Regions from separate parts of the Homo sapiens genome. Here all the other regions are linked to region 1. Evidence: promoter capture Hi-C in 16 types of primary human blood cells and fetal thymus (Javierre and others, 2016). All regions are on one chromosome and are shown on one strand. Each heading gives the region's core, a stretch centred on a gene start or on the middle of the fragment in contact. The rest is flanking DNA. Distances are from core to core; before and after follow the strand shown.

The links. Contacts are between HindIII fragments. The CHiCAGO score rates a contact against its expected background, and 5 or more counts as called.
Region 2: a contact is called between a fragment that was not itself captured here and the fragment with the promoter of DOCK5 in region 1, in 1 of 17 cell types (endothelial precursors). The highest score is 6.3, in endothelial precursors.
Region 3: a contact is called between a fragment that was not itself captured here and the fragment with the promoter of DOCK5 in region 1, in 8 of 17 cell types (neutrophils, megakaryocytes, erythroblasts and 5 more). The highest score is 12.1, in neutrophils.
Region 4: a contact is called between a fragment that was not itself captured here and the fragment with the promoter of DOCK5 in region 1, in 4 of 17 cell types (neutrophils, monocytes, megakaryocytes and 1 more). The highest score is 9.6, in neutrophils.

Annotation. Positions count from the first base shown.
Region 1 is chr8:25,183,399-25,186,774 of GRCh38, reverse strand. DOCK5 (dedicator of cytokinesis 5) reads right to left here and starts at 2,086. Exons shown (of 52, transcript NM_024940.8): 1 at 1,824-2,086. The coding sequence starts at 1,866. It overlaps LOC124901912 (a long non-coding RNA gene), which reads left to right and starts at 2,398. Exons shown (of 2, transcript XR_007060861.1): 1 at 2,398-3,376. RefSeq lists silencers at 1,789-1,838, 2,009-2,178, 2,189-2,268. The HindIII fragment of the contact is 10,671 bases long and covers 1-3,376 here.
Region 2 is chr8:25,495,496-25,498,871 of GRCh38, reverse strand. All of the region lies in intron 13 of CDCA2 (cell division cycle associated 2), which reads right to left. Among named protein-coding and RNA genes, the nearest start is that of CDCA2, 38 kb to the right of the region's middle. The HindIII fragment of the contact is 1,573 bases long and covers 995-2,567 here.
Region 3 is chr8:25,460,006-25,463,381 of GRCh38, reverse strand. It overlaps CDCA2 (cell division cycle associated 2), which reads right to left. Exons shown (of 15, transcript NM_152562.4): 2 at 3,082-3,142; 3 at 2,828-2,998; 4 at 1,174-1,328. The coding sequence starts at 3,142. Among named protein-coding and RNA genes, the nearest start is that of CDCA2, 2.5 kb to the right of the region's middle. The HindIII fragment of the contact is 1,718 bases long and covers 1,132-2,849 here.
Region 4 is chr8:25,441,310-25,444,685 of GRCh38, reverse strand. It overlaps KCTD9 (potassium channel tetramerization domain containing 9), which reads left to right. Exons shown (of 12, transcript NM_017634.4): 3 at 351-394. Among named protein-coding and RNA genes, the nearest start is that of KCTD9, 15 kb to the left of the region's middle. The HindIII fragment of the contact is 1,318 bases long and covers 879-2,196 here.

The sequences.
Region 1 (3,376 bases), core at 837-3,336:
ACTGAATAGTTTTGAAAAGAGCTTTTAATCCTGATAAAATTAGAGTTGATAACATTTCTGTAGTGATTGGGCATTGTAAATATGCTTTCATCTAGGGGCCAGGTGAGGTGGCTCATGACTGTAATCCCAACACTTTGGGAGGCCGAGGCAGGCGGATCACCTGAGGTCAGGAGTTTGAGACCAGCCTGGCCCAGATGGCGAAACCTGGTTTCTACTAAAAATACAAAAATTAGTCAGGTGTAGTGATGCAAGCCCGTAATCCCAGCTACTCGGGGAGGGGGGCTGAGACAGGAGAATTGCTGGAACCTAGAGGTGGAGCTTGCAGTGAGCCGAGATTGCGCCACTGCACTCCGGCCTGGGCGACAGAGTGAGACTCCCTCGTCAGTCCGTCTCAAAAACAAACAAACCAAAAAAAAAAAAAAAAAGAGCCCTGAGGCAGAAGCAACATCTCTACCCATTTCTGAGATGCAGCTAAGGGAGAGACTAAGATTCTAAAAGCAACTTAAGAGCAAAAAAGAAAATGTCTTTTGAATTGAGGGAAAACAAAAAATAATAAATATATAAAGGATCACAACCTAAGAATAATATAGTAAATATGAGACTGTTAAAAAACAAAACAAACAACAACAAAAAACCCTGACTCCTGGCTACAGAGTTGAAAAGCCCCTAGACACGTTGAGTAGCTCTTAATTGAGACTGCACTTCATTAACCAGTGAGGTGAGGAAAAACAGGACCTCAGTAAGGGAGTAAAGTCAAAGACTAAATTACAAACAGGCCAAATGAATGGATCTGAGAGGAAGTGATAAAATTCGCAACACACTCAGCCGTGTTTATTGTAGGGAATCACCCCAGGTCTAACTGCCATTGTAATCACCCCGTTCAGGGCAGAAGTCTTCCCACAGGCCCTCAATAACTTCAATCCTTGATAAAAAGCCAAAGGAGCCTGACTTTCCACCTGGGTCAAAATCCCCGCACATCTATTGTTTCGGAGCCAAAGCACCACCACCAGCAACCCCTGCGCACAACCCGGGGCTCTCCAGCACCGCTGTTCTGAATGCCAAGTGCCCAGCACGGGGTCTGGCACAGTTTCCTTAATAAAATGTCCTCTTCTCGTCTCCAGGATGAAACTCAGGATCCGGAAGGCAGCCTTACACCCTCTCCAGACAGGCTCCGTTAGGGGATGAGTGCGCACAAACAGCCCCAGGGGCCAGCCACCCCCTTCCCGTGCCACAACTTCCTGTCCCTTCCATCACTTCCACGCCACGACTCTAGTTTCCATCCAGCTCACAACTGTCATCAAGATCCCAGTCTCTGGAGGAAAGGGGGCAGGGCGGCTTTCCACCCTCAACTCCTCACTTAAGGGGCGTCTGAGAAGAACCTACGAAAGCGGGGGGCAGAAAGCACTGGGACAATGAGCACCAGTCCATGTGCCGACCCGGGCTGGTCACCTACTCCCAGGTGAAACCCACGCTGGGCGCACCGGGGCGAGCCACAGAGCTGCGGCCCCAAAAGAGCAGCAGGCGCGCCCCCCTCGCGTTGACATTTCCCTGGTGTGAAGTGCCGGAGATTGGGATGCAAGAGCGGGATTACGGTCCCGAAGCTCAGCTGCACTTGGAAGCACTCGGAGTCCCCAAACCCTGGGCGACTTCCCCATCGGCGCTCCCTGGAGAGGACTCCTACCGTCCCCGGCTCCCAGAGCTGCGCAGCCGGGCCGAGCCCCCGGCCAGGGTCCTCCGCCGGGCTCTGCGCAAACCTGGCAGGGCCGCTGTCCGCGAACTTGGCCGCGTGGGTCGGGCCGGGACAAGGTGGGGCGCGCACTCACCAACCCCGTACTTCTGCCTCTTGGTCGGGATCCAGCGGGCCATGGCGGCGACCTCGCCCCGCGGCGGCGGCGACTAAGGCTGCTACAGCTCCTCGGGCTCCGGCCGCCGCCGCCCCGCGCTCCTGCGTGCCCCAGACGCTTCCGCCATGTTCCGCCAAACTTCGCTGGACTCCGCGGGCCGCCTCCTCGCCGCGCCGCCCGCGCCCGTGCCCGTGCCCGCGCCGCCCGCGGTCACCTGCTGGGCCGGGCTGCAGCGCAGCAGTGCGCGCCCCTCCTGGCGCCGCCCCAGTCCCTCCCGCCGGCCGCACCCTCCGCCCGCCGGGGCCGCCTCCGAGCCGCGGGCGCCCGGCCTCTCCCGCCCGCGCCGCTCTCTGCGCTCTGCCGGGCGGGGGCCGACTGCGGCTCCGCCTCGCGCGCTTCCCTGGAGCGGCTTCCTGGGCCGGCGGGACTTTGACGCTGGCGGCACTTTGCCTTTCTCCCGCCCTCCCCACCCGGCTGATACCCCGGAGGCTGGGTCCCGGGGGTCCGGCTCCCGACAGAGGGCTGCGCTGGAGGAGCCGGGCACGCCCAGGCCGGGCGGCCGGTGGGCGAGGGATGCGGGCTGCGCTCCCACGGCGCGCGCCGGACACTTGGGGAGCGGAAACGGATCAGCGAGAGCGGCTTCTTGCTCGGGGCACCTCCGGTGCCTGGCACTAAGCGGGCGCGCAATAAATATTTGTTGAATGAATGAGCAGTTGACTTCTGCCTTCACCCCCTGGAGCTTGAACCCGCGCCGCGAGCGGGAGAAGCCGGACTCAGGGCAGACTGAATCTCCCGGGGCCACCGCTTAGAGCCTGGAAAGCAGAACTTTTATCACCGGAGAGCTGGTGCAAGGGAGGTGGGCTCCTCAGAAGTATCAGACCGTTTGCTAGGGGATCCTCTGCAGGGAAATTGTTTAGAAAGCCCTAATTTGGAAGTCCTGTATCCCCAAACTCCGGGGACCCCCCAACCTTAAGCTGAAGAAACTTAGACCCTCATGCCCAGACCTCCCTTTCCCAACCAGCCAGCAGCCCAGAGAGCATTCCCGTGGAGAAAGGGCCAAGGCGCATCCCCGTCTTTTCTCCGTCAACGACTGCCTTTTCTTGACGAAGATCCCAAAGGGGCTGCGCATTTGAACCGCCTTGGGCTCCAGGTGGCGCCCTCTCTGGAGCTCCCCTCTTGGAATTCATTTCTTCCTGGAGAGACTTGGAGAATGAAGATCCAGGGGTTTCTCCCTACCTTGTACCGAGAAGTAACATTGCAAGTAGAGTAAATGACCAGCTTAATTACGTTCACCTTCGAAGAAGATTCCTCTAGAGAGAAATTATATCCTCCTTGCAGCCTGTGAAGGTTTTCATGCGTTTTAGGAATATAAAAGAAAGGAAGACAAACATGTAGTAAAGATAGTAAAGACAGGTAGTTGGCCAGGCGTGGTGGCTCATGCCTGTAATCTCAGCACTTTGGGAGGCCGAGGCGGGTGGATCACCTGAGGTCACGAGTTCCAGACCAGCCTGGCCAACATGGTGAAACCCCTT
Region 2 (3,376 bases), core at 532-3,031, 310 kb before region 1:
CTGGACAAATCTCCAGAGAATTATGCTGAGTGAAAAAGCCAGTCCCCGAGTTACACAGTACATGACTCCATTTGGGTAACCTTTTCGAAATGACAAAACTGTAGGAATGAAGAAAGATTAGTGGTTGCCAGGGGATGAGGCGGGGTTATGGGTAGGAAGTGGATGTAGCTACAAAGGGCCATGGGAAAGCTGTCTGGATCTCGGCTGTATCAATATCTTGGCTGCGACCCTGAACTATGGTTTCGCAAGATGTCACAATTGGGGGAAACTAGGTAAAGGGTACTTGGGATCTTTCTGCATTACTTCTTAGAAGAGTGTGTGTATCCAAAATGATCACAAAACTTAAAATGTACACCAGGGATAGAGGCTCATATCTGTAATCCCAGCACTTTGGGAGGCCTGGGGGGCGGGGGGGGGGTGCAGATTACCTGAGGACAGGGGTTTGAGACCAGCCAGGCCAACATAGTGAAACCCCGTCTCTACTAAAAATACAAAAATTAGCTGAGCATGGTGGTGCACACCTGTAGTCCCAGCTACTGGGGAGGCTGAGGCAGGAGAATCACTTGAACCGGGGAGGAGGAGGTTGCAGTGAGCCGAGATCGTGCCACTGAACTCCAGCCTGGGCGACAGAGCGAGACTCCATTCCAACAAAACAAAACAAAACAAAATGTAATTCAACAAAACACAAAAACCATGATGGCAATTTTCCCTAGTATCTCCTCAAAGTTCAAATTTCTCCCTTGGCCCATAATTTCTTTTTCTAAAACAACTGTTCTAATCAGGACCCCAATAAGATCTCCACACATACCATTTGATTCATGTCTTTTAGTCTCTTTTATTCTATGGCTCCTTTTTTACTTCCCTTGACATTTATTTGGTGAGTAAATTGAGGCATTTTTCCTATAGAATTAGCCAAGTCCTAGATTTGGCTCACTACAGTAGGTGAGTCTATGTTCCTCCATGTCCTATAAATTGGTAATTAGATCTAGAAGCTTGATTAGATTCAGTTTTGATGGGCAAATTTGAATACAATTGTATAACCAACAAATTAAAAATTGCATATAGCATGGTGGATGAGAGGTTTTGACATATGTACACATTGGGAAATGATTAAACTAACATATCCACCACTTCACATAATTATTTTATGGCAAGAACACTTACAATGTCATCTCTTAGCAATTTTCCCATATACATTATTATTTCCTAGTCACCATGCTGTACAACAGATCTCCAGAACTTACTCATCCTAACTGAAACTTTGTACCCTTGAACCAACATCTCCTCATCCCCCACCACTCAAGCCACTAGCCCCCCTGACAACCACCATTCTATTCTCAGCTTCTGTGAGTTTTTTTTTTTTTTATTTTTTATTTTTTAAAGATTCCACATGTAAGTAAGATCTTCTTGTCTCTCTGTGCCTGGACTATTTTACTTAACGTAATGCCCTTAAGGTCCTTCTATGCTGTCAAAATGACAGGATTTCTTTAAGGCTGAATAGCATTTTGTTGTGTGTGTACACACATATTTTTTCTTTATCCATTCACCTGTTGATGGATACTCAGCTTGAGTCTGTAACTTGGTTATCGCTCTTTGATATACTGATTTCCTTTGGATACATACCCAGAAGTGGGATTTGCTGGATCATATGGTAGTTCTATTTTTAATTTTTTGAGGAACCCCCGTAATGTTTCCCACAATGGCTTGTGAAAATGGATTATTTGGAGTCACTGTGTCATAAACAACTAGAGTCCAGAGACCAGGGGAAAAAAAGCACTTGGGACTGTAAGACTAAATTTAACTACCACCATCACTCACCAGAGTTTACCAGCTCCCCAAAATTTTGCTTAGGGCCAGTGAGTTTTTTTTCTAAATAATATGTAACATTTCTTTTTCTACTAAAAACCCCAACTTTCTACGTTCTTAGGACATATCAAAGACCACCTCGGTCTGTGTGTTTGCCCCAAACTGCAATTACGTTTTCCCAAATAAAACATTTTGTTTAGAGATTCAGTTCTATATTTTTAGTTGACTTTGCCAATCAAAACAGGCTGTAGCAATTTACATTCCTATTGATAGTGTACAAAGGATTCCCTTTTCTCCATATCCTCTCCAACACTTGTAATCTTTCATCTGCTTGATAATAGCCAGTGATATCTCATTGTGGTTTTAATTTGCATTTCCCTGATGATTAGTGATGTTAGCCATTTGCATGTCTTTTGAGAACTGTCTATTCTGGACCTTTGACCATTTTTAAATTGGTGTGTTCTTGCTAATGAGCTGTTTGAGTTTCTTATACATTTTGGCTATTAACCCCTTATCAGATGTATGGTTTGTAGTTACAGTATCTTCTCCCATTCTATACGGTGTTTCTTTCCTCTGTTGATTGTTACTATGTCACATCAGCCTTTTATCAAACGTTTTAAGCAGCTTTGTTGAGCATTTCTTTTATTACCTGAAATTCTTCTATAAACAACTTTTCCCTCATCAACTATTTGTTTACCTGAAATAGAGCTCAAATTTTATTTTCCTGTTATCAGAAAAATGAGTGGGTATCCTAGCAAGCTTCTAAAGTGTCCATTAATTAAAAAAAAGTAATAAACTTATGTGTTATTTCATGATTGTACTTCAATGCTTTGCAATGCTGATGATCATATCTGGTCAGTGTAAGTCCCTTGAAGATGGATTTGTGTCTGTTAACATGACACCAGTAGTTTTTTTTAGCATCCTTCCTTGTACTCTGGTACAGACCCAACCAGGCTCACTTATTAAATTTGTTGTTGTAAATCTGAAAGCAGCCATTTCACCAAGGGACCCTAACCCCTTTTAACTGGTATGTCTAATGATAATCTATGCACCAGGGATGCTCATGAATTTTAAGCTTTATCAATGGATAGAGCTGGACAATTCTTTTAAATGGAAAATAAAATGAGTTTCTACTCTTATTTCCAATTCAAATTTAGTCTTCCAAAGTTTTAAATTTGTTGGATTTAAAAATATATCTTTTGTCTCTGAGTGCACATCTTGATTCTTAATGATGGGAAAAATTGCTTATTTGCTTTATTCTAAATTCAGTGCTTCTATTGAGTGTTTCATACTGTTTATAATTTCTTTGCAGTTATTTTTGTCCTTAAGATTTATCCCCCTTATAGGGCCAGGCGCAGTGGCTCACGCCTGTAATCCCAGCACTTTGGGAGGCCGAGGTGGGCGGATCACGAGGTCAGCAGATCGAGACCATCCTGGCTAACATGGTGAAACCCAGTCTCTACTAAAAAATAAAAAATAAAAAATTAGCCGGGCGTGGTGGCAGGTGCCTGTATTCCTAGCTACTCGGGAGGCCGAGGCAGGAGAATGGCATGAACCCGGGAGGCGGAGC
Region 3 (3,376 bases), core at 741-3,240, 280 kb before region 1:
AGGCCTTAGAAATTTTTCGGCTCCATTATTATGAGACCACCATTGTATATTTAGTCCATCACTGAACAAAATGTCATTATGTAGCACAAGACTGTATCTGACTTTTTAGGGGGATGTATAAAAATTTGAAAAAACAGCTAAATATATCCCCATCAGCAGATAAATAATCTACTCCTCTCCACAAGGTTGTCCCAAATACATTTTGTCCAGGAGACCCTTGCCCCTATACATCAACACACAGTAGTCATGAAAAAATCAGTAACTTAGAGATAAGCTCTTAAAAAGGTAGTAGTGCCTCACCTCATAGAAAAGTAGATCTTAACTAGAAAAAAAAATTGAGAAATAAAATAAAAAGCTCCTCTAGAAAGCTATTTCTATCCAGGGTCTCATAACTCTAAAAATACCCTCGTTTGGGTTGAGCACTGTGGCACACACCTGTAACCCCAGCACTTTGATAGGGATTGCTTAGGGTCAGGAGTTCAAAATAAGCCTGGGCAACATAGTGAGGCCCCATCTCTACAAAAAAAAATTTTTATAATTAGCCCATTGCTGTGGCACATGCCTATAGTTCCAGCTACTTGGAAAGCTAAGGTGGGAGGATTCCTTGAGCCCAGGAGTTCATTGCTGCGGTGGGCTATGATTGCACCAGTGCATTCCAGCCTGGGCAACTGAGATCCTGTCTCTAAAACAAAGCAAACAAAGAAAAATCACCCATGGTCAACATCATCATTTAGGCTAACTGCATTTTTTTTTTTTTTGAGACAGTCTCACTCTGTCGCCCAGACTGGAACATAGTGGCATGATCTTGACTCAATGCAACCTCTGCCTCCCAGGTTCAAGCAATTCTCGTGCCTCAGCCTCCAAGTAGCTGGAATTTCGGGAACCTGCCACCACACCCAGCTAATTTTCGTATTTTTAGTAGAGATGGGGTTTCACCATGTTGGCCAGGCTGGTCTCGAACTCCTGACCTCAAATGATCTGCCTGCCTCAGCCTCCCAGAGTACTGGGATTATAGGCGTGAGCCACCGCGCCCGGCCGCTAACTGCATGTTCTCTAAAACACAGAGAAAATCTCCCTCCAGATTTGAAACAGAGCAGATGCACTAGAAGGTGTAAAGAAAGCACAAAAGCTTCATTAACGGAATTCACGACAGAACTTAGAAGAAAATCATACCTGGGAAGGAGAATCTTGTGCCAAAGGAGATTTCCTAGCATTCTTTATATTTTGCTGCCGAGCAATGAAACGAATCAGATGGTTTGTTTCAGGAGAGCCCCGAGCACCGACTGCAGAACGTCGTCTACATTTTTTAAGGTAGGATGATGACTTTCCTGTAATGAAACTCTCTTATAAATTGGAACAAAACAAGGCAATCATCAGTAACCACATCCAATACTCGTGATGTACCAGCCTGAGAGAGAAAACATGATAAACATGTGCTACAAAAAACTCAGTGGAGAGTTACTGGCACAGTCATTCATATACAATCAGTGGAAGAGGAATCTTTTTGTCTGCTGACTTAGTCTATGCTCCTAGAACAGTGCCTGGTACATAGAACAGTTATTAAAAGTTGTTGAATAAATACATGAACACATTTTAAGTTTTCATTTTTGTTTCTTATTTCCTACACACAGATGGCTTTTGCTTTTGACTCAGTATTTTTCTTTTTCTAAATAAGTCAGTTTTATCCCCAGCAACTGAAAGGTAAGATCTCCACCTAGGTACATGCAGTCTCAGGTTCTTAATTCTTCAAGATGATTGTTTCTTTCTGATACCTACCATCAGCACTACCCTGAATTTTGGACATATGCCTAAGCACACAAAATGAATCCAGCCTTTTAAAGGTCTAAGAGTGATGTTTTTGAGAATGAAAGTTAGGGTGGCGTGCCACTTTCGCCTTGTCTTATGTATTACCTGGTCTAGTGCCCTGTGATATTCAAGACTTCCATTATCCTCCAATTCTAAATGCTATTCTCTGATCCAATTCCATTCTCATATAGTATTTCCTTCTTTTCCATCTAAGTCAGACTTCACAAGTAAACTTCATTTCTACTGCTCGAAGGACATTAGCCAGAATCAATCTTCTGTTTGTGTTTTTTTTTTTTTTTTTTTTTTTGGAGACAGAGTTTCACTCTTGTTGCCCAGGCTGGAATGCAATGGTGCGATTTCGACTCACGGTAACCTCTGCCTCCCAGGTTCAAGCGATTCTCCTGCCTCAAACTCCTGAGTAGCTGGGATTACAGGCATGCACCACCATGCCCGGCTAATTTTGTATTTTTAGTAGAGACGAGGTTTCTCTATGTTGGTCAGGCTGGTCTCGAACTCCTGACCTCCGGTGATCTGCCTGCCTCGGCCTCCCAAAGCGCTGGGATTACGGGCTTGAGCCACTGAGCCCAACCCTGTTTGTGATTGTTAAAGGAGGTACATCCTGCTCTTTCAGTATTATATTTTCTTAATTGCTCTTAAACTTTCTCTTATTTTTGCCATAAATGAAAACAAAATGCATTATTACTATTCATATCATACACCCTCCTGTATCCTAGGTGACAGGTCAAAAAGTGACTCACACACACATTATTTTCTAGTATTGGCATCAAGCACGACTCTGACTTGGGAACATTATCATGCTGGGTGCCCTGCGATTCCGTGATCCCTGCTATGCTAAATGAACTGTGCATGTGCAAAGAAGTCTCTCTGAAGAAGCAAGTTTGCAGAGTAGGCAATTTAGGTACCTAAAATATGACAGTACGTATAAACAAATAAAGCTGAGTTATATTAAAGTTATTTTTAAACTTGAAAAGCATTACAACAGAATGACAACTTTTCTTACCTGCAGAGTTCCTAACAAAGCTTTCAGGTGTAATTCCCAATTGCTCTACGGTTACTGTGGAAAAGTTCAAAGGTGATTTAAAAGTATCTGGTGTGCAAGGATTAGGAGGTAATTCGGCATGCTTCTGAGGAGTCACAATCTTCCCAGTTCCCAAAATGAAAGAGGCATTTCCTGAAACGGACGACATATTGTAGGGGTGAGGACAACTCTCTGTCTAAACCTTCAACTTCACAAGGAGGCAGATCATCACATACCAGCATTATTCATTGCAGACTCCTTGGTTTCAGGGGGCTTGTCTTTTGAATTGGCATCCATCTAAGAGGTGAAGAAAAACAATGAAAAATAACCCCACCAGCAAGATGAACGTGATTCGATCACGTACCTTATTCAGGACTGAATTGTAATACAGTCCATACTGGCATAGAAACACACGTCACAGGTTTCATTTTTTATTTTAATTTCTGTGGGTATACAGTAGATGTATAATTTATGGGGTACATGAAATATTTTGATACAGGCATGCAATTCGTAATAATCAAATCAAAGTAA
Region 4 (3,376 bases), core at 288-2,787, 260 kb before region 1:
AATGTAAAGAAAAAAAGAATAGTTGGCTGTGACTTTAATCTATCCTTTCAGCATAATTATTCATTCTCAATTGATAAGAAAGCTGAACTCAACATCGTTTGTGTAAGGAGATTTTTTTCCCCACATTTCAAAAGTACTTTCATGTGCAAGATCTTATTTTTGAATTTAAATTCAAAGACAGTTAAGTTCAAGGGGTTAAACAAAGCATTGGAAACTTAGCTTCTTTGCAGTCTAGATTGATAGCAAAACCTATTGTCTATATAATTGTAAGGAATAGTTCCTATAAGCAACAGATAATTAATGTGATTTTTAGATTTTGATGGTAGCTTTTTAAATTTTGATTTCCCCAGGGATGATGATGTTTTGTTTGTTTGTGAAGGAGAGCCATTTATTGGTAAGTGACTTTAAAAGCCAATTTTATCTGCCAAAAAAAAAAAAAAAAGATGGAATGACAATTATTTTAAATGGGGCTATTAAGCTTAAACATTAAAAATGATCTTATGGCTGTATTCAAATCTTCACACTTTTTGATTCTGCATTGGGTATGTTAAAGTAAATTTTTTACTATATGATCGTAGTTTATTATAGATGCATGTTTTACATGCCGTTAAAATGCTCTGGAGGTATACATATTCATTAACTGTAACATAGTAAGGTAGTTTTGATCTTAGAAACAATTGTTTTGTTTGAAAATTTTTTCTTTGATGGTGAATGTCAAAATTTTTCTACGTGTTGTATTACATATTTGTGAGTAAATATTGCTTGCGTAAGTAGTGTTTGACAGTATTTCACAGTGATCAGATCAGCCAAAAAATGACTTGGTATCAACCACACACACAGGTGTGCACACACACTACCCTTTGATTTGGAAGAAAGCTTATAGTTGTATATCTCAAAAGAAAAGGCCGAAAGGAAGATAAAGTATTTGATTTATTTAGATCCATACAGTCCACACTCTGAATATTTAAGTATTTTTTAAAGCATCATACTAATTGCATTTGGTGAGTGGAAGTAGTTCTCACGATTGTTGCACAGGCAATTGTCAACTTAGAAGTAAGTGCATACTCTTGTCTGTCTGTCTCTACCTTAAAACTGTAAGCAAGAACTTCTCATCTTCTTTTATCCATTGGCCTAACAGTGACTGGCAGGCAATGGTCACTTAATTGGTCCACTGCATACAAACACAATAAAAAATGATCAATTAAGGTTTTTTTATTGTTATTAACTCATGGATTTAAAAATATTTGGTATATTTTCATCCTCTGCATTTATTGATGTTCAGATGGTCTTAATTTTTTGCCACTGGAAATCTCTTCGGGTCTTTTTAACAAACCTTGTTGGATTTTATGGCTTTCTTATTATCTGGAATAACTGGTGTTCATCTTAAAACCTTTTCCTGTCTCAGACCTGGATCAACATTTTTCCAACAAGCCTTGATTTTTTTAGTGGGAAGTGTCATTCCAAGACAAATCTGGGTGCTAGGGAGGCTCTTCGCTATTGGGTTCATTATTGTTGCTATGCCTTTTGGTGGACAGAATTGAAAATATATAGGTAGAGATAAAATTTGTATATAATGTATGTTATAGGATATAAAGTTTATATGTCATATATAACAAAATATGGATAGATGAAATAACTCATGGCTTCATAGTAGTACTTAAAGTTTATATTAAGGATTATAAGGTTTTTACTTATCCTCTTCTGTCTTACATCTGTGTCTCCTTTTTCTATATCAATAGTCCTGACTTTCAGGGACATGGAGACTAATAGAATTATAATGTCACATAATTACTCATTTACTTTACCCCATACAGAACACATCTAAAAATGTCAGAGTAACAAACTCAATACTTTCAGTACCAATATAATTACTAAAAACAGTTAAATGTTTTTCATATGCTAAATCCCTTCTCCCCTTACTTAAAAATAATTGTATTGTTTCTGAATTGTCGGAACATATAGCCATTGTATATTATAGTGTCTCCCTTTATACACTCATTTAGTTTTACTTCTTCAAGCGTACACTTACCTCCAGTCCTTTTGTTATGTTTCCAGTGTTTATCTGAAACTTGTTCTCTAGTAGATTTCTCTCCAAGATACTATGAGAACAATATTCGGTGACATCTTCCAATGGCAAGATGCCATTGCCATCCACCATCTTTATATAATTTTGGTATAAAATTATATGTCAAAGCTTATTAAATTATAAACTTTAGTATGTGTAACTTGTTCTGTGTTAATTATACCTCAGTGAAGCTATTGAAAAATCCTTGGTTCACATTATTTTTCTTTGAATATCTTAAATATGTTACTGCATTTTATTCTGGCCTGAGGTGTTGGTCTCAAAAAATCTGATCTTTCTTATGTGATTATTTTTCATAGATCACCCAAAGGATATTTCTCTTTCTTTAAAGTACAGTAATTTTAGTAGAATATTTATTGGTGTTCTGAGTTGTTCTGGATTGGTTTTCTCAGTATGTGATGGATCCTTTCAATATATAGTTTCAAGTGTATGTATTTTAAAATTTCAGTACAGTTCTCTTGAAGTTGACATTTTTATTTTGTTCACTTTGATTTGATTTCCTTCTTTCAGGACTCTATTGTATGTAGGGTGGATCTTTTACACTTGTCTTTTATGTTTGAAACTTTCTTTTCCTTTCTTTTTATTTTATTTATTTTTTTGAGACAGGGCCTCACTTCATCACTCAGGCTGTAGTGCAGTGGTATGATCTTGGCTCACTACAGCTTCAACCTCCTGGGTTCAAGTGATCCTCCTGCCTCAGCCCCCAACCAGGAGCTGGGACTGCAGATGTGTGCTACCATGCCCGGATAATTTTTTTGTATTTTTTGTAGAGATGGGGTTTTGGGGTTTTGCCCTGTTGCCCAGGCTGGTCTCGAACTCCTGAGCTCAAGCAATCCACCCGCCTCGGCCTCCCAGAGGATTATAGGCATGAGCCACCACGTCTGACCATTTCTTTTTAATTTTTCAAGCTATTCTCTTTTTTACCTTTTCTTTCCCTTAAGTCATTGTCTATTGTGTTTAATCACTCTTGTATTTCTTTTGCTTTAGTCTTTAAAAATCATTTTTCTTTTATTTCTAATTCTCTTGGGAGTTCTTGCTACTCATTTCTGAATTTTTAAATCCTGGTTTATATTGTTGTTTTATACCTTGTATAAACTTCTTTTAGCATGTTTTGGAATATTAGATTATAATTTTGATCTATTTTGTGGGTATTTCTGGCATGTTTTCATTATCTATAAGGACAATTATTATTTTAACACTTTTGTATTAACATTTGATCAGTCTTTTTGTATTGCTCATTTTTATATGAAATTAGTTTTTCTTAACTTGAAAAGAGGGCTGACAGGACAGTTT